Regions from separate parts of the Homo sapiens genome. Here all the other regions are linked to region 5. The links are contacts of gene promoters, found by promoter capture Hi-C in blood cells and fetal thymus (Javierre and others, 2016). All regions are on one chromosome and are shown on one strand. The core of a region is centred on a gene start or on the middle of the fragment in contact, and the rest is flanking DNA. Distances in the headings are between cores, read along the strand shown. Region 1 overlaps SETD5 (SET domain containing 5). Region 2 overlaps SETD5 (SET domain containing 5). Region 3 holds the start of BRK1 (BRICK1 subunit of SCAR/WAVE actin nucleating complex). Region 4 has its middle 4.0 kb from the start of IRAK2. Region 5 holds the start of TTLL3 (tubulin tyrosine ligase like 3). Region 6 holds the start of TATDN2 (TatD DNase domain containing 2). Region 7 holds the start of VHL (von Hippel-Lindau tumor suppressor).

What was found. The method cuts DNA at HindIII sites, captures the fragments that hold promoters and counts their contacts. A CHiCAGO score of 5 or more calls a contact.
Region 1: a fragment that was not itself captured here is called in contact with the fragment with the promoter of TTLL3 in region 5 in 1 of 17 cell types (neutrophils); the score reaches 5.5 in neutrophils.
Region 2: a contact is called between a fragment that was not itself captured here and the fragment with the promoter of TTLL3 in region 5, in 1 of 17 cell types (neutrophils). The highest score is 5.1, in neutrophils.
Region 3: a contact is called between the fragment with the promoter of BRK1 here and the fragment with the promoter of TTLL3 in region 5, in 16 of 17 cell types (total CD8 T cells, naive CD8 T cells, activated CD4 T cells and 13 more). The highest score is 18.6, in total CD8 T cells.
Region 4: a contact is called between a fragment that was not itself captured here and the fragment with the promoter of TTLL3 in region 5, in 7 of 17 cell types (monocytes, activated CD4 T cells, erythroblasts and 4 more). The highest score is 8.1, in monocytes.
Region 6: a contact is called between a fragment that was not itself captured here and the fragment with the promoter of TTLL3 in region 5, in 14 of 17 cell types (monocytes, total CD8 T cells, megakaryocytes and 11 more). The highest score is 9.0, in monocytes.
Region 7: a contact is called between the fragment with the promoter of VHL here and the fragment with the promoter of TTLL3 in region 5, in 1 of 17 cell types (total CD8 T cells). The highest score is 5.6, in total CD8 T cells.

Annotation. Positions count from the first base shown.
Region 1 is chr3:9,437,409-9,440,676 of GRCh38, forward strand. SETD5 (SET domain containing 5) reads left to right here. Exons shown (of 23, transcript NM_001080517.3): 8 at 3,048-3,268. Among named protein-coding and RNA genes, the nearest start is that of SETD5, 41 kb to the left of the region's middle. The HindIII fragment of the contact is 2,514 bases long and covers 623-3,136 here.
Region 2 is chr3:9,464,237-9,467,161 of GRCh38, forward strand. It overlaps SETD5 (SET domain containing 5), which reads left to right. Exons shown (of 23, transcript NM_001080517.3): 18 at 189-436. Among named protein-coding and RNA genes, the nearest start is that of SETD5, 68 kb to the left of the region's middle. The HindIII fragment of the contact is 2,998 bases long and covers 172-2,925 here.
Region 3 is chr3:10,114,098-10,117,082 of GRCh38, forward strand. It overlaps BRK1 (BRICK1 subunit of SCAR/WAVE actin nucleating complex), which reads left to right and starts at 1,578. Exons shown (of 3, transcript NM_018462.5): 1 at 1,578-1,722. The coding sequence starts at 1,605. RefSeq lists enhancers at 1,386-1,675, 2,126-2,175. The HindIII fragment of the contact is 6,229 bases long and covers 1-2,985 here.
Region 4 is chr3:10,159,499-10,162,294 of GRCh38, forward strand. No RefSeq gene overlaps it. Among named protein-coding and RNA genes, the nearest start is that of IRAK2, 4.0 kb to the right of the region's middle. The HindIII fragment of the contact is 1,059 bases long and covers 920-1,978 here.
Region 5 is chr3:9,808,814-9,811,906 of GRCh38, forward strand. It overlaps TTLL3 (tubulin tyrosine ligase like 3), which reads left to right and starts at 1,449. Exons shown (of 14, transcript NM_001387446.1): 1 at 1,449-1,581; 2 at 1,808-1,896. The coding sequence starts at 1,849. The region is part of intron 4 of ARPC4-TTLL3 (ARPC4-TTLL3 readthrough); the gene reads left to right. RefSeq lists an enhancer at 521-670 and a silencer at 1,151-1,630. The HindIII fragment of the contact is 3,571 bases long and covers 1-2,807 here.
Region 6 is chr3:10,247,531-10,250,624 of GRCh38, forward strand. It overlaps TATDN2 (TatD DNase domain containing 2), which reads left to right and starts at 929. Exons shown (of 8, transcript NM_014760.4): 1 at 929-1,537; 2 at 1,665-2,084. The coding sequence starts at 1,671. RefSeq lists a silencer at 815-1,244 and an enhancer at 1,497-2,365. The HindIII fragment of the contact is 1,674 bases long and covers 648-2,321 here.
Region 7 is chr3:10,139,898-10,143,027 of GRCh38, forward strand. It overlaps VHL (von Hippel-Lindau tumor suppressor), which reads left to right and starts at 1,881. Exons shown (of 3, transcript NM_000551.4): 1 at 1,881-2,290. The coding sequence starts at 1,951. It also overlaps the pseudogene LOC124906359. RefSeq lists an enhancer at 2,798-3,130. The HindIII fragment of the contact is 16,438 bases long and covers 1-3,130 here.

The DNA of each region.
Region 1 (3,268 bases), core at 630-3,129, 370 kb before region 5:
CTTGGAGAATAGAGCAAGTATGTGGAATGGTTTAAAAGAAGTGTAAGGTGCTGGTTGATTAAAAATAGCTTGCCAAAAGGAGATTTGATTATGCTGTCTGGTATCCTCCTTTACGTGTGTGTGTGTGTGTGTGTGTGTGTGTATAAATATATATATATGAGGAAAACATGCCTCTCAAATTATTACTGGGGGCTTCAAAGCATTTAAATAGAATTAAATTCAAGTTTATGAGTATTCATATTCCTAAATGATACAAAAGCAGGATCTTTCCTATTGAGAGTTATAGGGCATAAATATTAAAATCTTTAGTAAGGCCAGGCGCAGTAGCTCACGCCTGTAATCCTAGCACTTTGGAAGACCAAGGCAAGTGGATCACCTGAGGTCAGGAATTCAAGACCAGCCTGGCCAACATGGTGAAACCCCATCTCTACTAAAAATACCAAAATTAGCCAGGCGTGGTGGCAGGCACCTGTAGTCCCAGCTGCTTGGGAGGCTGAGGCAGGAGAATCGCTTGAACCCAGGAGGCAGTGGTTGTAGTGAGCCGAGATCACGCCACTGCACTCCAGCCTGGGCAACAGAGCAAGACTCCATCTCAAAAAAAAAAAAAAATTCAGTAAGGATAAGCTTTTTAGGATTGCTTTATGTGCAGCACCAGTGTGACTGGTGTTAGCAAAGATTACAGGTAGCACTTTACCTAAAGTTTGAAGGCCCCACTTAGTATCTATCTTTAAACAGACTTGCACATACCTGTGAAAGAGTTGGGAGAGGACTCAGAGCTACAGAGCATCAGAGGCCTGGGATGTGTCTTGGAAGACAAATCAATCATGCCTTTGCTGGATCCGTCTCTTGCAAGTGGCCAAGTTTGCTTTAGCTTCCCCTTTATTTTTGTCTCATTTGCTTAGAGAGGGGCCTTTTAAATAGACTTTGGAGGCAGATAATAGCCCTAATCCTGGCTACTAAATGCTTTTCTCTTATCAAGCAACTATCATAACTTATCTCCAGAAGCTCGAAACCTTTCAAAAGCTATAAACTGGCTCTACCAGAAAACTGCACATAAACCCCATATTTTGCTTACAGTTTTGGGAGGTTGACAGCCTCACAGGTGTGTTAAAATTTAGAAAAAAAAATTACTAGTCATTTTGATTCTTTTAATTCTAAATTGAGTTATAAATTTTATGCTCAGAATTACTAGTTTAAAACTCCTCCAGTGATCCAGGTGGGAGCCATAAGAATTAGAAAAAATTATCATTTGGATTTTTAATCCCAGTGTCAAGAGCAGCTTCCCTACTGAAGACTTAATTGTAAATCAGGGTTTCTCAGTCTTGACACTGTTGACAGTTTGGACCAGATAATTCTTTGTTGTGGAAGGGACTGTTCTGTGCTTTCAAGATGTGAACAGGATCCCTGGTGTCTACCCACTAGATGCCGGTAACACTCATACACTCAGTTGAGATTATCAAAAATGTCTTCAGATATTACCAAATGTCACCTGGGTGCAAAATTTCCCTCAATTGAGAACCACTACTCTAAACCCAACTGAGGTAGAGTCTCTAATGCCTTGAAGGATGGGACAGCAGAGTAAACACACAGTGAGATTAGCGAACAATGGCTAATACTGTGACAGAGGCTTCCAGAATACAGTACACTTATCAAGTGTAAGTTTAACAATTGCCACTTAAAGCTGGGAATATTGTTTGGACACTGCCAGTCCCCCTAGTCTGTAAGCTCCATTAAGCCTAAGGTTTTGCACTATTCTTTTGCGCAACTGCTACTGATGTCAAGCAGGCGATACTCTGATTGTCAGTATGTTGGCTTTAGGTGTTTCTTTAGATCCCTTTGTTTATTGTTCAGTCTTTTGGACTCTAGTAAGAAATGTGGAGACAATAGTGTTGATTTTTTTTCTTCTATACTCCTGTTCCTTGCAGAAAGGATAGTAGACAATAATCAGTCAGCAACAGTGATGCAAAAGTGGTAAAAGAAAGTGTTATGATAAGCATCAGTGTTTTCTGTGCCATTCATAGAAAGTATATTTAATTTTATTGTACCTGTTTGCAAGTTTAATGTGGACATGGATTTTCAAGTAGCTTTGGTACTACAGTGTCTTTTCCTTCTAATCATCACTAGCATGACATCATCACTGTCAGTGTTTGTTTTGTTTTCTGATGGCACTTAAGTCTTGAACACCGTGGAGGAGAACATGTATTGGGCTTATGCTTTGTCTCTGTAGCTCAGGCACTGTCTGCCTAGGAAGCTGTTCCTGAGTTGTAGTAATCTTTTCTCAATACTGTCACCATAGAGGGCAATGGTTTTCCTAGAGGAGTATAGCAAAGTACCTCCTAGACATTTTCTATATTCTCCCTACCTACTCCTCTCCCCTCACTTCACCTCTTCAGATTATTTAGAATGTGGTAATTTAAATTGTTGAAAATAGAGTGTTAGAAAGATATACTCAAATAATAACTTTTTATATGGGTAGTAAGATTGGGATTGGATTAATGAGATTGATTGATTAAGATCACATCTAGGTTTAGAATGAACATGTATTATGAAAATAATAAGTGATACAAAAACATGCATTCTCCTGGAGAATAGTCAAAAAACCAGTTTGGGCTAACACTTAACACAGATATTCAGTGAGTATGAAAAATTTAAGCAGTGATAAATTTGAGGTCTCTACTGTTCATTTGTATGAAGATTTTCTTATGAACTTGATGTCAGTCCTTTGATTAGAAAATTGATTTTTATGACTTTAAAATGGTCATAAAATCACAGTGATGGGATGAAACTATGATCCAGATTAATTTCTTACTTTATAAATGGAGAAACTGAGCTTCCCCATTTAAAGAAGTTATTCAAGGTCTCACCTCTCATTGGTAACAAAAGCATGATAGAAACCAGATCCTCTGACTCCCAGTCCATTACTCTTTTATGCCACATCAATTGCCAAGTGATAAATTTTCTCTGGAACCCCAGCTTGTCCCACCCCCATTCCCAACCCTCTATTTATGCATGGACTTTACTAACCTCCCTGAATTTGTTTTCTACAGAATTCTCCCTCTGAAGCACAGAATTTAGATGAGAATACAACTGAGGGCTGGGAAAATCGGATAAGACTATGGACTGACCAGTATGAAGAAGCTTTCACTAATCAGTACAGTGCAGATGTACAGAACGCGCTTGAACAACACCTACATTCTAGCAAGGAATTTGTGGGCAAACCTACTATTTTAGACACTATTAATAAGACTGAATTGGCCTGTAATAACAC
Region 2 (2,925 bases), core at 421-2,920, 340 kb before region 5:
TCAGAGTTATTTTAAGCATGGTAATTAAAGAGTTTCTTTGGGATTTTGGTTGGATTGGAGGAGATAACTTAATGGGATGAGGCAGAAAACAGTTAAGAGCCATTGTAGATTACAGATTAATGGCTTTACTGTAGAGCCTTAAATTAATCTGTGGTTTCAAACTCTCATCCAAGCTTTGTGTTTCACAGACTTGTTGAGCCCATTAAAGAAATGGAAGTCTCGCTATCTGATGGAGCAGAATGTCACCAAGTTACTTCGGCCTCTGTCTCCAGTCACACCACCCCCTCCCAATTCAGGCTCAAAGAGTCCCCAGCTGGCCACACCTGGCTCATCTCACCCAGGAGAAGAGGAGTGTCGAAATGGATACAGCCTCATGTTTTCACCAGTCACATCTCTTACTACTGCTAGTCGCTGCAACACTCCTCTACAGTTTGAGGTGATTTGGGTTTGGTTGCTGGGAGTGCTGGATATGAAAATCATCATTTGTACCTTCTCATTTCAAATATAATACCATTCCAAATGTTTCTTTACTATCTTTCTTCCCCATCTCAGTAAGAGAATGGGAAACCTCAGGGTCATTGTGGCCTGTTACCTGGTAGCCTCTCATCTTGGCAGCCCCTATGCTTCCCAAAATAGGCATACTGCTACCACAAATCCCATTCATGTATCTTTTGCATGCAGTCCATCAATCTCCATAAGTTTAGGTAGTAAGCATGCTAGATCTCCATCGTTATCTTTACTGTATACTTTGGTCAAAATAGGCCTCTAGCTGCCTGTAGTATCTGTTAGTAACACTAGCCTGAGAGCACAGATGATATTGATTGATTGTGTCTTCGTTTCTAGGCCTTTAAATAAGTGAAGTGTCTTTCCCAGGTTGTTTGGTATTTTCATTGTGGCCTTAGCAGAGATTTAGAAAACATTGGGGTATGGCTTATGGCGAATGTGGGTTTTTTCCACTCCAGGTTACTTTCCCTCTTTGTTATAATGTCTTAGGAATCAGAAGTAGACAAGAGGCTAGCAACATGTATTCATGAGACAAATTTATTACCTTCACTGTTGGATTAAGTTAGAAATGTCTGCCTCAGCTGTTTCAAAAAGTAATCTTGAATCACTTTAGTGTTCAGGTTTGGGTGACAGCAGGTTTCAATAGAATCCATGTATACTTTTTTAAAACACTTCATCTATTGCATGTTACTTTGATTTGTAATTAAAATGGACACTGTCTCTTTTTTCCTTCTCAGAAAAATTTGTTCTGACCACTAAACACACTCTGCTGCTCTGCCCCCTTGTTTGCACTTCTCCAGATGTGTTTTTTGAGAAAGGTGAACATTTTAACCAATCTTACGTTTCCTATTCAGCTTTTCCAAGTATGAGGATTCAGAATACTTAGCTTTTATGAGTAACTAAGAGGCAGCTAGCAACATTGAAAGCAGAACTGTATTCTTTCTTACCCTAGACCTCTACTTTTGGAGCAGACCTCTTTCTGGGTGAGGGAAAAAACCTCCTGGTTACATATCAGTTATCTAGGGAAATTACTCTTTACCAGATTATTTATGAAATTCTTTCAGCCAGATAATAAAGCAGCTGATTCAGGCCTTTCTAACTTGACTTTGTCTACTTGCAATTGACTTTGCAGTTTGCACCTAGAGCTTTATAGTAAGGTATCATGAGAGGAATTCTCCCTGGAGGGCATAAGATTATAGGAATAGAGTGTCATACTTTATCAATACAGGTTTTATTATAAATGTGGAATTATGAAAATTAGAAGGAGGCCGGGCGCAGTGGCTCACACCTATAATCCCATCACTTTGGGAGGCTGAGGCAGGCGGATCACGAGGTCAGTAGATCAAGACCATCCTGGCTAACGTGGTGAAACCCCGTCTCTACTAAAAATACAAAATATTAGCCGGGCGTGGTAGTGGGCGCCTGTAGTCCCAGCTACTCGGGAGGCTGAGGCAGGAGAATGGCGTGAACCCGGGAGGCGGAGCTTGCAGTGAGCCGAGATCGCGCCATTGCACTCCAGCCTGGGCAACAGAGCAAGACTCCGTCTCAAAAAAAAAAAAAAAAAAAAAAGAAAATCAGAAGGTAAGTCACTTTGCAAAACAAGCGGGTTCAGTACTCAGTGTGTTCCTTATCCCTTGTAGCATTTGGGATAACTATTAAACACTGCAAATATAAAGTGGTTTTGGTTTTGTTTTGTTTTGTTTTTTTTAATTGGTGATCATTTTAATAATACAGTCCATGCATAATGTTAGAATACCAGGAGGGAAGGAAAATATTAAATAGTAAAAGGTCCAAGGCATGGTTTCACTTGCAATTTAAGGAAATTTTACCTTTCTCATCAATAATAGAACAGATTTCACCACCCTGACCCATTCTAATCACCATTTTAATGGCCATACTCTTTGCTGTATTCTAGTACAGAGAGGTGGGGAGCCTTTTTTGTAGCAAAGGCTGTGACACATTGTGAAATATCAAAAAGGTGTCACGTATAAAGACCAGCTTAGGCTGGGCATGGTGGCTCACACCTGTAATCACAGTGCTTTGGAAGGCTGAGGCAGGAGGATTGCTTGAGGCCAGGGGTTTGAGACCAGCCTGGGTAACATCGTGAGACCACATTTCTGCAAAAATAAAATACAAAACTTAGCCAGGTGTAGTGGCATATACCTGTAGTCCCAGCTACTTGGGAGGCTGAAGCAGGAAGATCACTTAAGACCAGGAGTTTAAGACTGCAGTGAGCCATTATTGTGCCACTACATGCCAGCCTGGGCAACAGTGAGATCCCATCTCTAAAAATAATTTAAAGACCAGCTTAGGCCAGGTACAGTGGCACACACCTGTAATCCCAGCTACTCGGGAGGCCAAGGCAAAGGAATTGCTTGAGCCTGGGAGGTTGCAGGGAGCCAAGACTGCGCCACTGCATTC
Region 3 (2,985 bases), core at 328-2,827, 310 kb after region 5:
TATTCCCTGAAATGAGAATAAAGTTGTTCATATTCCACTACCTTAGCAAAGCAGATAGTGACTTTTTTTGTAGATCCTTCTTGTCCTCAAACATACATTTTTCCATAGTTGCAATTAAAGAAAAATGTGGGCCAGGCAGGGTGGCTCATGTCTGTAATCCCAGCACTTTGGGAGGCCGAGGTGGGCAGATCACTTGAGGTCAGGAGTTGGAGACCAGCCTGACCAACATGCTGAAACCCCGTCTCTACTAAAAAATACAAAAAATAGCCAGGTGTGGTAGCGGGCACCTGTAATCCCAGCTACTTGGGAGGCTGAGGCAGGAGAATCACTTGAACCCGGGAGGCAGAGGTCACAGTGAGCCAAGATCGTGCCATTGCACTCCAGTCTGGGCATTAACAGAGAAACTCTGTCTTAAAAAAAAAAAGTAAGAAAAGGAAGGAAGGAAGGGAGGGAGGGAGGGTATTTTGTTTTTCCCCTCAATTTATTGTATGTGTTTTCATGTTGCTTGTGTTCATAATTAGCATTTAAATGACTGCATAATAGGCCGGGCATGGTGGCTCATGCGTATAATCCCAGCACTTTGGGAGGCCGAGGTGGGTAGATCACCTGTCAGTTCGAGACCAGCCTGGCCAACATGGTGAAACCCCGTGTCTACAAAAAATACACAAATTAGCCAGGCGTGGTGACGTGAGCCTGTAGTCCCAACTACACCAGAGGCTGAGGCTGGAGGATAGCTTGAGCCCAGGAGTTCAAGCCCAGGAGTTCGAGGCTGCAGTGAGCCATGATCATGCCATTGCATTCCAGCCTGGGCGACAGTAAGACCTTGTCTCAGGCTGGGCGAGGTGGCTCACACCTGTAATCCCAGCACTTTGGGAGGCCGAGGCGGGCGGATTGCCTGAAGTCAGGAGTTCGAGACCAGTCTGGCCAACATGGTGAAACACCATCTCAACTAAAAATACAAAAAAATTAGCCGGGCGTGGTGGTGTGCGCCTGTAATTCCAGCTACTCGGGAGGTTGAGGCAGGAGAATAGCTTGAACCTGGGAGGCGGAGGTTGCAGTGAGCCGAGATCACACCACTGCACTCCAGCCTGGGCGACAGAGCAAGACTCCGTCTCAAAAAAACAAAAAACAAGAAAAAACCTTGTCTCAAAAAACAACACAAAAACACAAATTTCCTTCTGAAAGGGACTGTTCCAGTTTGCAGTGTGCCCAGCTATTTATGACCATATTATTTTTTAGACTCCGTCTAAAAAAAAAAAAGACTTGTATTTAATGTGATTTAATCGACTGTGCCCATCTCACTGCGGACACTGAGTGCGCAACCTGAGCCTGGAGCAGTTGAGGGAGACGGCAAGACCCCACGCGCCGTGTAACGACCATAACGCGCGTGCACTACAACCTCGCCGCCGGCGTCCAGGCTTCTGTGTTCTATAGCGTGGGAGTAGAGAGCAAACGCCGGCGAGGACGTGACGTTGCACAGGCCTATCATAGTGCCCGAGAATTCGTGGGTGCTCAAGAGGATGGGTGTGGCCTGGCAGCGCAGGCGCACTAGAGGCCTGTAGGGTCGGGGCGCCTGCGCAGTCGCTCTTCCTCAGGCGGCGGCCATGGCGGGACAGGAGGATCCGGTGCAGCGGGAGATTCACCAGGACTGGGCTAACCGGGAGTACATTGAGATAATCACCAGCAGCATCAAGAAAATCGCAGACTTTCTCAACTCGTTCGGTCAGCGGGCCAGCAAGGGGAGGCGGGGAGGAGGGAGGCCGCTGAGGTGGTTGGGCTGGGGCGCCGGGGAGATGCTTTGAGAGGACTCCCGCAGCCTTCGGCTGTTGCGGGTTTTCACTTCCTCCTTCAGGTCCCACCTTCTCCCTCCCGCCCTGACCCTCAGGCTCCCGTAGACAGTCTCTGTAGGGTTATCCTGCCCTACGCTGAGCTCATGGCTTCCTGCCATCCCTCTGGATCCATTCTACAAGTCCTTCTCCTAGACGCGTCAGGCAGCCCCATCCTCGCTCCGTGGTTCTTCTCCTAAGTGGTCTCCCTGCCTCCTTTGTACTCTGCATCCATTCCGGTCCCCACTTTGCACTCAAAGTGAGCATCCGGGACCGTGTCACTCCTCTGTTTCAAGACTGTTGACCGTTCCCCATCTTCAGGATCTGGTCGATACCCTCTAGCGTCGTGCCTTTTAGTTGGACCCGTTGTCAACCACTCCCGTCTTGTCCATTCCTTCCTGTTTCCTGTGTCTGCTGCGGTGAGAGTGGTGGGAGATGAGGTCAGAGGGATGCCAGGATCTTGTAGGACCTTGGAAGTCCTCTCTGTATTGCTAGTATATATAGCTTATGGTAGGTGTTCTGTCTGCTTCTAGCCCATTCCTCAGAGCTAACACAGGTCGGGTGCCTTCAGCAGAAAGATATCTTTACCAGAATCTTTCCTAGGCATGGCCTGCTTGTGACAGCCTTAAATTCTTCCTTATGAACAGCAAGCAAAGCAATCGAGATTCCTACCCCTTCTTCTCCAAGTGTTTAACAGAACTTGGCACTGGTTAGACTTTCTTGTGTAATTACAGGATATAGGGACTAGTGTACTTTGGAAAGATTTTTAAATGAATGATTCTCTAACTAAAGGACTGATGGCCTTAGGAGTACAAAGGTGACAGAGCAAGAGATTGTCAGAAAGCATCAGCGAGAGATGCTAGAGCTCCATATGAGGCCCTCTCTTAAGGCATAGTGGGAGACACAGAATAAGAACCACTTCCTACATTCAAAGAAGTTCTAATCTTGAAGATGAAATAATGACAACTTCAGGACAAAGAAGAGCATCATTTTTGTATTAAAGTATTTTCATACAGGGTGTTTAGGACTATAATCGTGGCTGAGTTCAATGGCTTATGTCTGTAATCCCAGCACTTTGGGAGGCCAAGGTGGGAGGATTGCTTGAGCCCAGGAGTTCAAGACCAGCCTGAGCAACATGACCAGATCCTATCTCTACAAA
Region 4 (2,796 bases), core at 199-2,698, 350 kb after region 5:
TTTTGTATAGGACTAAAAACATGTAAAAGGAGTATATACTCCAAACAATAATGGTGATTCCTCAGGGATGAGGTTATGGGAAGGTGTTTGTTTTCTCTTTCTTTCTGTCTTTGACAAATATCACATGCTATCAGAGAAACCAATAAAGATATTTTTGTTAAAAAAAAATATAGCCGGGCGCGGTGGCTCATGCCTGTAATCCCAGCACTTTGGGAGGCCGAGGTGGGTGGATCACCTGAGGTCAGGAGTTTGAGACCAGCCTGACCAACATGGAGAAACCTCGTATCTACTCAAAATACAAAATTAGCTGGGTGTGGTGGCACATGCCTGTAACCCCAGCTACTCAGGAGGCTGAGGCAGGAGAATTGCTTGAACCCAGGAGGCAGGGGTTGCGGTTAGCCAAGATCACACCAGTGCACTCCAGCCTGGGCAACAAGAGCAAAACTCCGTCTCAAAAAGAGAGAAAAAAAAAGAAAAATATATGCAAAGTGCATAGAGAAGCTTTATTATTCTCCTTTCATCAGTCTTCCCTCCTGCTCCAGCTTTTTTTTTTTTTTTTTTTTTTTTTTTGATATGGAGTCTCACTGTGTCCCCCAGTCTGGAGTGCAGTGGTATGATCTTGGCTCAGTGCAGTCTCCACCTCCCGGGTTCAAATGATTCTCCTGCCTCAGCCTCCCAAGTAGCTGGGATTACAGGTGCGTGCCATCACGCCCAGCGAATTTTTTTGTATTTTTAGTAGAAACGGGGTTCCGCCGTGTTGGTTGGGCTGGTCTCGAACTCCTGACCTCAAGTGATCCACCCACCTCGGTCTCCCAAAGTGCTGGGATTGCAGGCATGAGCCACCATGCTTGGCCTCTGCCCCAGCTTTCTGATATGACTGGTTCTCAACTGTGCCAGCACATATTAGAATTATCTGGGAAGCTTTAAAAAACAGTAGTGCCTGAGCCCCACTCCAGAATAATTGAATCTGTCTCCCTGGAGGTAGGGCTAGGCATTTATACTTTTTAAAAGCACCCCAGATGTTTCTACTGTGCAGCCAGGGTTGCAAACCACTGACTATAATTTCAAGGGAATTAAACTTGAACAGCTCAAAATGACGTAAGTGTGTAATTAATTACATTCAGCCTCAATAACTGTTTCTAACTGATCCTGGTGGGTGTTGGTCATGGAAAATAGCCAGAGGAAGAAATTAACTGCAAGATCAGAGGAAATTTCTTGTGGTGAGGCAGTATAACACAGCAGAAAGAGCATTTGCTTTGGGTCAGACTTGAGTTGCATCCTGTTGATGCGGGACAGGCAAGCCCCCAAATTGGGGTTTAGCCTGGGAGGGTTCTTAGCTTCACCCAGAAAGGAATTCCAGGGCCAGCCAGTGGTGTTAAATAGCACCTTTTATTGAAATAGCAGTGTGCAGCCGCAGCAGAGGTACTGCTCCTTGCAGGGTAGGGCTACTCCATAGGCAGTGTGCCCAGAGTAGTGGCTCAGAGGCAGTTCTACAGTCACATTTATACACACTTTTAATTATATGCAAATTAAGGGGCAGTTTATGCAGAACATTCTAGAAAGGGGCGGTGACTTCTTGGAGTCGCCATGGCAATGGTAAACTGACAAGGTACACTGGTGGCAGTGTCTTATGCGAGGTACTTCCCACCACACCTGTTTTAGCTAGTCCTCAATTTGGTCCGATGTCCCAGCCATTCCTTTCGAGTCGAGTGCTGCCCCCTACCTCACTGTCACTTGGCCAACTTGGCCCAGTTACAATTGACTTCAGCCTCAGTTTCTTCATCTGTAAAACAGAAACAATAAACCTTTGCAGGGTTGTATGGATTACAGATAATGTATGCTAAATGCCTGCTAGGTGAGTTGGTAGGTGAAGGGCAACCATTAGTAATAGCAAAGACCTTACTTTGAAGAACTTATTCTAAAGAGTGGTAACTGAGATGTGTCCCTGTGATGACCTGCTCAGGCCCAAAATGACTCAAGCTTCTCTGGAAGACAGAATCCTAGGACACAGATCCCAAGCCCTGAGGCTGGGGTGAGAAGGAATTGCGGGAAGGGCCTGAGGATGCAGCAGAGAGAGCAGTGGGGGCTCCTCTGCCTTCCAGGATTGACCAAGGCTGAATGTGAAACTTCCGTGGTCTTAAAGCCTCACCCCAGGGAAGAGGCCCTGTGGCACTGAGGGAGGAGCTCTACACACACGCTGCTTGCGGAAGAGAAGGAGAAGCAGGTAGGGGACTCTGCAAAAAGAGAAAAGGAGAAAAAGAAGAGGATCTTTATTCTCTTTTACCCCCGTGTGCCTGGGATGGAGATGCTTCTCCACCCAGCCTATGGCAAACAATCATTACAGTTCCCAAGTCCACCTTCAGCCACTGCTGAAAACACAGGACTTCACTTGAAAAGTAGTCTCAGAACACTGAAATATGTCCCACTTTCAACATCAAGGAGGACATAATAGTAATCCTTTACTGGGCTCAGCACTTCACAGTTGATCTTGAGCGTTTTGGAGTCCATTTAGGCTTCATAACAATCCTTCCAAGTGGCTGCAGCAGGAGATCCAGTTTCCAAAAGGGAAAACAGAACTGGCTCAAAGGACTAAGAGCCGGAGAGTGGCTGAACCAGGTCTCCAAACTTGATAGGACTCCAAGGCCAGTGGGTGCCTTTTCAAGACCACTAATGACAGCTACCATTTTTTGGGCACATTCTCTGTGCGAGGAAAGCCCTGTAGTAGGTGTTCTATATAGGCTACATAATTTGATTTATTCCACTCCCCTCACAACTCTAAGCAGTAGGAAGGAGCAG
Region 5 (3,093 bases), core at 199-2,698:
ACTCTTAAGAGCACATCTACCCAGTGACTGACAAAGCTGGGCTCTTACCAGGACACTCTTCGACTCTGCCTGCGGGGGCACTGCTAGAGTTTGCCTCTCAAACTGTCCCTGTGTGGTCCTTCTGTGACTGGCAGGCAACCTGAGTGATAACAGGTGTTTAAGAGACAGGCTTTGGAGTCAGACCTGGGTTCCAGTGCTGCCTCTGCTCTGTGATTTGAGGCAAATTGTTTAACATCTTGGAGCCTTACCTCCCCTGTGACTTTTGAGGATAATATTTTGCCAGTGCTTCCAAAAAGGTTGCTTACAGTCTTAGCCTGGGGGCCAGGCATAACTGTTGTGAACTATTACATTTCTTTCGCAGTTGACTCAAATGATTGTTTTTCCATTTCCAGTTTCTGGGGAGGGTGTGCTCTGCACCTTCTTGTTACCCCCATATGCTGCCCTCGCTAAGGACCTTACCCTAGGCCCATCTGCCAGGCCCAGCAGGTCTGATCTGGCCTCACCAGGCTCCAGCCACCCTGGCTGTCTTGTAGTTCGCACAGAGGTTCTTACCCTTCTCAGGGCTGTTGCTGGGACTGTCCCTTCCCTGAAGTGCAGTTCCTCCCCTTTCCCTGGTGACTCCTGACTCCTGGCATTTACACCTTCAGCTTAAATGCGCCACTTTATCTAAAATGCGCCCCCTTCCTGGTTTCACCTCTGCTTGTTCATTGCCCTTATTATACCTGTAAACTATTCTCTTCCTTTGTTACTTGCTTTTTATTCCCCTCACACTGGGCTTTTAGTAAGCTCCATGAGGTCAGGGGCCATTTGTTAGCGCCTATAAATACTGTGGAATCACTCAAACCCTAGGGCCGGTGGCACCAGGAAGTACTGGATAAGGAACCGCAACACTAACTAACTGGGGCTCAGTGCTCTCTTCCGCCTTCAGTGCCCTGCTCATCAAGGGTCTGGGTGAGGCCCCAGGTCATAAGGAAGCCCTCGCTCGACTGCCCCGGGGCCCATCGCAGCCCCCAACCAGCCCCGAGCGGTCTGATGGTGCCCAGGGAATGGTTTCCAAGGCAATAGCAAACGGGGCGGGGCTTGGAACGGAGGACAAGGCTCGAGCCTAGGCAGGAACTTCCCGGGAGAGGAGGCGGCGACGCGGAGGGGCGCGGGATCAGGGGCCCTGGGAGGGCGAGCGCGGCGAGGGGCGCATGCAGGGCCCCGACGCGCCACTGCTCCTGAGCGCGAGGGAGCTGGGGCCCGGGCGCCGGGGCTCGGCCTCCTGGTACCGCCAGGAGGGCGGCGCGGTGTGCAACTGGCTGCGGAAGCCGCAGCCGCTCGAGCCACGCACCAGTTTCCCCTCGGCGCGCCGCTCCGAGTTCCGTCCACCCAGGAGGCTGCCATGGGCCGGCCCTGCCTCCGCCCAGTCCGAGGAGGGTCACGCAGGCGGCAGATGCCAGGCGGGCAGCCCCGCCCCTGCGCGCCGCCTCAGCGGCGCCTTCAAGACGCTGGTCCCAGGCACCCACGCCCAGGGCGCCTCGGATACCCACCCCCTCGGCCCCCCGCACACCCCGGTCCTCGACCCCTCTCCGCAGGATGGTGAGGCCCGTGCGGCCCGCTCGCTCTGGCCTACAGCGGCTGCGAGGACGACAAGACGCTGGGGTGGAGGGACTGGGGGTCGGGAGAAGAGCGGCTGAGGGTGGGCATCTGGATGAAGGCAGGAGGAAGAAAAGAGGCGTGGCTATGGGCGGCCAGAAAAGATCCTAGGCCGAGACCCTAGGCCCAGCCTCAGTGTACCCCGCCCCTATTCCGCATCTTTCTGCAGGTTTCCCGGTCCTCTGGCGAGGATCCTCCAAGGCGTCTCACATGAACCGGCTCAGAAACGCCAAAATCTACGTGGAGAGAGCTGTCAAGGTCAGAGGAGGGGCAGGGGCGCTTAGAAAGGGCCCTGGGAGCGGCTCAGCCTGTCTCCCTGCGCTGTTTTCTTATATCCTTAAAAAACAAAAGCAAAAGAAAAAACAATAGCAAAAATCCTCAACCACCACACCCATCTTCAACTACCTCCCCGTTTACCCCTTCAGCACCAAACTTCTGGGCTCCCTCCACTCTGGTTCCCTGCGATGTCCCACTCTAATCAAGGTGCCTGGTGAGTTCCAGGGAGCCAAACCCAGCAGTGCCTTTCGGTCTTGATCTCGGTTGGGCACCCTGTATCTTTCGACACCGCTGCCCCACACACCCTTCCTCTTGGCTGTCTGACTGCACGCTCCTAGTTTTCCTTTCTCCCTCTTTGGCTGCTGCTTTTCAGCGGCCTTTAAAGGTTCCTCAGCCATTAGTGGCCCCCTGGCCCCTTCCCCAGGTCTGTCTCCTTTGGCTGTGTCCTTGGCTGAGTCCAGTCAGTGTGCTGCACCCTCTCCGTGCCCCTTCCAGCCCAGCCTCGAACTCCACATCCCGTAGATCTAGCCCCTACCTGTCATCTACACCCAGAAAACTTAACAAGCATTTCAAATTCATGTCCCAAACCAGACTTTGATCTTCCTGCCCAAACCTGTCGTCCTCCCCAGTCTCCAGTCTTTCCCATCTCTCAGTTCCTCACGCCAGAAATCTCATCTTTCTGTTTCTTCACCCACAGGTCTAATTCCATCAGCAAAACCACTTGTCATCTCCACCTCCAAAACGATTCTCAACTCTAGCACCTTCTCCCGTCTGTGTTGTAACCACCTTCATTTTAGTAATTGTGATTTCTCTCCTAGGCAAACTATGACAGCCTCCTAGCTGGTCTACCTCCATCCTGTCCCCTCATCTTTTTGTAATACAGCAGCAAGCCAAGCTTAGAAAGATTCCCTCAGTTAGCCTTTTTTGCTCATGACACTCTTAGTATGAAATCCAAGTCCGTTCCAAGGCCTGCAGGGCCTTCCACAGTCTGGCCACTGCCTACCTCCTCTGGGGCTTTCCCCATCATTTTCCATGTTCCACTCACTCTGGTCTCCCTTCAGTTCCTTCTGACCTCTCTCCAGCCTCAAGGCCTTTGCACATGCATTCCCCTCTGCCTGAACCGCCATTTCCCAGCTCTGTACATTCATGGCTTCCTTTCAACCTTCCCTGACCATGTAT
Region 6 (3,094 bases), core at 235-2,734, 440 kb after region 5:
CCTCGGCCTCCCAAAGTGCTGGGATTACAGACGTGTGCCACTGGACCCAGCCTCCTTTGCCAGTCTTAATACTAAGTTATTTTATTATTTTGGGAGAATTGCTACATCGAATATCAGCCCTTTGTCATATGTTTCGAGTATTTTTCTGAATTTGTACCTTGTCTTTGATTTTTTTTCTTTTTTGAGACAGGGTCTTGCTCTGTCCTCCAGGCTGGAGTGCAGTGGCGGGATCACAGCTCACTGCAGCCTCGACCTCCCGGCCTCAAGTGATCCTCCCACCTCAGCCTGAGTAGCTGGCATCACGCCCAGCTAATTTTATTTTTTGTAGAGATGGGGGTCGCACCATGCTGGCCAGGCTGGTCTCTAACTCCCGAGCTCAAGCCATCCTCCCGCCTCGGTCTTCCAAAGTGCTGAGATTGCAGGCGTGAGACACCGTGCCCAGCCGTCTTTAATATTTTTCACCAGGCGGATAGTTCACATTTTTGTGTAGTCTTTTTTTTTTTTTTTTTGGTGCCTTCTAATTCTAATTCTTCCCATTTCTGGGTGTGTACTTAGTCTCTCTGAGCCACAGTTTTCTGCTCTATAAAGTGGGGTGATAATGCTCAGTACACGGTTTGCTTTGGCTCGATGAGAAATCCAGGTCTGAAAGCTTCAGGTACAGCGGCCGGCGCTGAGGAAAACAGCGTTAAGTGAGGCGCGTCAGCGGACACCACCTGCCTGCACATCTGGCTGGCCTCAACTTCCCGCTGTTCGAGCCCACGTGAGTGGCTCCGCCCCATCTGGCTTCTGACCAATGGACGAGCTTCCTAAGGCGTACCGTCCCGACTCCAAGGCGCCTGGCTTTGAGGCGGGCTGCGTCTTGCTCGGAGTCCCGCCCCTTGCCGGGTCGAGCAATGGGCGCCTTCCGTTTGGCGCAGGCCCCGCCCCTGTCGCTCTCCGGCCTGCGGGCCGCAGGGCTCGTTCCGGAGGGCGGGCGCCACGGAGGCCGGAGTGGTCGCAGTTCGGGCGGAGGCCGGGCCAGGCGGGGCTGTAGGGCTGGGGCAGGCGGCGGGCTGCCCGGCGGGACAGCTGCGGCAGCCGGCGGGGGGCGTCCTGAGTTGGCGGTCGAGGGCGCTGCCAGCTCCCGAGGGGCCGCTCGGGCCCCTTCCGGCCCGGGTCTGGTTGGGCCGCAGGAGCAGGGCGGGCTGCGGCGCCCGGGTCTGGCCCTGGCCTACGGGCTAAGCGCCCGGCCCCGGGGCCGCGGATCCGGCAGCCATGTGTGGATCTTGAAGCGCCATGTGGTCTTCTGAAGCGCTTGACAGTTCTAAAGGGCTTTATATTGCAAACTGATCAAAGCGCTTCGTAGCCCCGGAAGCGCTTAGGCATCTCCGAAGTAGCGCTGGGCAAAGTGAAGGCTTCCTGATCTCAGAAGCACGTTGTGGGCTTGGAAACCGACGGCAGCCTTTAGTCAATTTTGGATCGCTTTGACTTCTCCAACACGGTTTGGCATCTCTGAAACCTTGAGAACTGTGATGGGCAGTGGAAAGAAGAGGGAAAGGTCAGTGAGGCTAGCCCCTGGCTCTGCCCTTATGTCTTGCCGTCCTCCTGGGCCCGGGGTGGCGGGAATCTGAGGTGGGGTCGCCAGGAAGGGTGGTGTTGGAATCCAGGCCCCCTGTACCTTGCAGGTGCCCATGGCGTCCGAGCGGGGCAAGGTCAAGCACAACTGGAGCAGCACGTCGGAAGGGTGTCCCCGCAAGCGCAGCTGCCTCCGGGAGCCCTGTGATGTGGCCCCCTCCAGCCGGCCAGCTCAGAGGTCTGCGTCGCGTTCTGGAGGGCCCAGCAGCCCCAAGCGCCTGAAAGCCCAGAAGGAGGACGATGTGGCTTGCTCGCGGAGGTTATCCTGGGGCTCATCCCGCCGCAGAAATAACTCCTCCTCCTCCTTCTCCCCACATTTCTTGGGCCCTGGTGTGGGCGGGGCCGCCTCCAAAGGCTGCCTGATTCGGAACACTCGGGGGTTCCTGTCTTCAGGGGGATCCCCTCTGCGTCCTGCCAACGCCTCTTTGGAAGAAATGGCTTCTCTAGAGGAGGAAGCCTGCAGCCTTAAGGTAGGTGGCTGCCACGCTTTGCAATCGGTGAAGCCCCTTCCACATGGCTTGAGAGGTTGGGGATGGGAATTTTGGTGGAAGGAGACTACAAAACATTACATCCTTGAAGGTCTGGAAGGTCTTTCTAGAAGTCCACTCCCCCCAAACTCGAAGACCTAGCAGTCTTCCAGGCGCGTGGCCTGAAGTTAAGTAGAGAGGTAATTTTCAAACTCGGCAGCACTTTGGAACTACTTGGAAAGCTTTAAAATACTTGGGCCTGCCTCCTACTCCAGAGAAACTGATTTATTGGGCTGAGGTGTGGTCTGGGCTTCCAGATTTTTCAGTGCTCCCCAGGTTATTGTAAACGTGCAGCCCCGTTGGAGAATCACTGCAGTAGAAGGTGGATTATGTGCTCAAGAGAAGAATGTATTTATTTTAGTTGTCAGTTTAAAGAATTGTGTGCCCTTGTACTTTGAACCACTCTGAATCACAGAACCAAGAATTGCGGTTCTTGGTGTAGCTTTTCTCCAAAGTCATAGTTTCCAGCATGTTGGGGTTTTGCTTGGTGGTGCTAGTTTTTTTTTTTTTTCTTTTTTTTTTGGAGGTTAAATTGTTAATTCCCTAATGGAAACATGCAAGAGGGTTTCATAAGTACTTTGAGCAGACCAAGGAGTGCTTCACAGAGAAGATACATTTCGCTCATCTACTCAATCAAGGCTTTGAACAAATATGTGTTGAGGGTTTAGTTTGTGCCAGGCAATGTTCTAGGTGTTTGGGATTCTTTACTAACAAAACAGATCACTTTCCCCTTAGAGTTTGCATCCTAGATTTTGAAGGTCTGAGTCTTAAGAAGTGAGAAGTTCTGCCTGTGGAGGAGTGGAGAAACAGTCTTATTTGGGATCAGATGGGCTGCCTCTAGAGAAAATTACTTTACAAAAGCAATTAAAACAGGCCCTAAGGAATATGTGTTTGTTTTTAAGCCTAGCCTTGGTGGTTTCTTTTGTGTAGCTGAGAAAGGAGGCTGTATTTGA
Region 7 (3,130 bases), core at 631-3,130, 330 kb after region 5:
GGGCTCCCAAAATCTCGGGATTACAGGCGTATAGTGCTAGGCCTTCACATTCTTATATACCCTTCTGTTTCCTTAGCTGTGAAATGGAGATAATGACATAGCCTTAATTCACGTGGGATGCTTAGCACAGTGTCTGGCACTTGATAGATTTTTTTCTTTCTACTTGAAATTTATTTTTGAGCTGGGCACGGTGGCTCACACCTGTAATCCCAGCACTTGGGAAAACCAAGGCAGGCAGATTACCTGAGGTGAGGAGTTCAAGACCAGCCTGGCAAACATGGTGAAACCCCGTCTCTACTAAAAGTACAAAAATTACCTGGGTGTGGTGGCACACACCTGTAATCCCAGCTACTCCAGAGGCTGAGGCACGATAATCACTTGAACTCGGCAGATGGAGGTTGCAGTGAGCTGAGACTGAGCCACTGCACTCCAGCCTGGGTGATAAAGCGAGACTGTCTAAAAAAAAATTATTTTTAACTAATATAAAACTCTCTGAACCCTTCTTTTTCTGAGCTGCTTCTCCACTTGAGTCCATCCCACATCATTGAACATTTAATTACACAGAATTGTGTACCATCTTCCTTGACCCCCAGATCTTTAGCCTTCTATAGTACCCTGTCTCTTTTTGTCGTACTAGTCACAGTTGCACTTTTTTTTTTTTTTTTTTTGAGACAGAGTCTCATTCTGTCACCCAGGCTGCAGTGCAGTAGCACAATCTCAGCTCACTGCAACCTCCGCCTCCCGGGTTCAAGCAATTCTCCTGCCTCAGCCTCCTAAGTAGCTGGGATTACATGCGCGCACCACCACGCCAGGCTAATTTTTGTATTTTTAGTAGAGACGAGGTTTCACCATGTTGTCAGGCTGGTCTAGAACTCCTGACCTTGTGATCAGCCCACTTCAGCCTCCCAAAGTACTGGGATTACAGGCATGAGCCACTGCACCCGGCCATAGTTGCTATTTTATTTGTGTGATTGATTACCGTATGACGCTTTTATTGAAGTGCAGTGAAGGCAGGAAACATGACCGGTTTTTACAATATTTTCAACACTTATCACCATAGGTGGTACATAGTAGGGCCTTAATAAATATTTGTAAAATGAACAAAGTTAATGAGTGTTTATGTTTGTAGTTTTAATTGCTCTGAAGTAAATATCTGATTTTCCAATTTCCACCAGAGTGCTCTGCACATAGTAGGTCTAATTATTTTTCCCTCTTTACTAATCACCCATGCCTTGTAAGAATTCAGTTAGTTGACTTTTTGTACTTTATAAGCGTGATGATTGGGTGTTCCCGTGTGAGATGCGCCACCCTCGAACCTTGTTACGACGTCGGCACATTGCGCGTCTGACATGAAGAAAAAAAAAATTCAGTTAGTCCACCAGGCACAGTGGCTAAGGCCTGTAATCCCTGCACTTTGAGAGGCCAAGGCAGGAGGATCACTTGAACCCAGGAGTTCGAGACCAGCCTAGGCAACATAGCGAGACTCCGTTTCAAACAACAAATAAAAATAATTAGTCGGGCATGGTGGTGCGCGCCTACAGTACCAACTACTCGGGAGGCTGAGGCGAGACGATCGCTTGAGCCAGGGAGGTCAAGGCTGCAGTGAGCCAAGCTCGCGCCACTGCACTCCAGCCCGGGCGACAGAGTGAGACCCTGTCTCAAAAAAAAAAAAAACACCAAACCTTAGAGGGGCGAAAAAAAATTTTATAGTGGAAATACAGTAACGAGTTGGCCTAGCCTCGCCTCCGTTACAACGGCCTACGGTGCTGGAGGATCCTTCTGCGCACGCGCACAGCCTCCGGCCGGCTATTTCCGCGAGCGCGTTCCATCCTCTACCGAGCGCGCGCGAAGACTACGGAGGTCGACTCGGGAGCGCGCACGCAGCTCCGCCCCGCGTCCGACCCGCGGATCCCGCGGCGTCCGGCCCGGGTGGTCTGGATCGCGGAGGGAATGCCCCGGAGGGCGGAGAACTGGGACGAGGCCGAGGTAGGCGCGGAGGAGGCAGGCGTCGAAGAGTACGGCCCTGAAGAAGACGGCGGGGAGGAGTCGGGCGCCGAGGAGTCCGGCCCGGAAGAGTCCGGCCCGGAGGAACTGGGCGCCGAGGAGGAGATGGAGGCCGGGCGGCCGCGGCCCGTGCTGCGCTCGGTGAACTCGCGCGAGCCCTCCCAGGTCATCTTCTGCAATCGCAGTCCGCGCGTCGTGCTGCCCGTATGGCTCAACTTCGACGGCGAGCCGCAGCCCTACCCAACGCTGCCGCCTGGCACGGGCCGCCGCATCCACAGCTACCGAGGTACGGGCCCGGCGCTTAGGCCCGACCCAGCAGGGACGATAGCACGGTCTGAAGCCCCTCTACCGCCCCGGGGTCCATTTTGCAGACGGGGAACTGAGGCCCCTTGAGGCAGGACACATCCAGGGTGACGCTGCTCGTAAGCGTCAGAGCATTCTTTTTTTTTTTTTTTTTTTTCTGAGACGGAGTCTCGCTCTGTCGCCCAGGCTGGAGTGCAGTGGCGCGATCTCGACTCACTGCAGCCTCCGCCTCCCGGGTTCAAGCGATTCTCCTGCCTCAGCCTCCTGAGTAGCTGGGATTACAGGCGTGCGCCACCGCGCCCGGCTGATTTTTATATTTTTAGTAGAGACGGGGTTTCACCATGTTGGTCAGGCTGGTCTCGAACTGCTGACCTCGTGATCCGCCCGCCTCGGCCTCCCAAAGTGCTGGGCTTATGGGCATGAGCCTCCGCGCCCGGCCCAGAGCATTCTTTATAAGGCCGAATAGTTTGCATTTGAAGGTGGCTCCCCCCAGTCCCCCACCCCACGTGTATTTTCCCCTCAAAGAAAAGCTGCATCCTTAACACCCCATCTGTTCAGTCCTCATGACTCCAGTGGGCCAGTTCTGCGTAGTCCCTGCCCTCGTGGAGAACACATTCCTCCTGGGGAGACTGACAGATGCAAAGACAGGAACAAGCCAGGGTCATGTTGGCGCCGGAAGAGCCGACCGTGTGTGGCGTGGGAAATTGACTTACCTGCCTGCTGGGAGATGGAGGGGTTGCGGTTGTGTGGTTTCAGTTAAGGAGCACTTCCCGGAGAAGGAAGAGAGCAGGATGGAGTAGGAACTAGCCAACCCTAGGTAAGA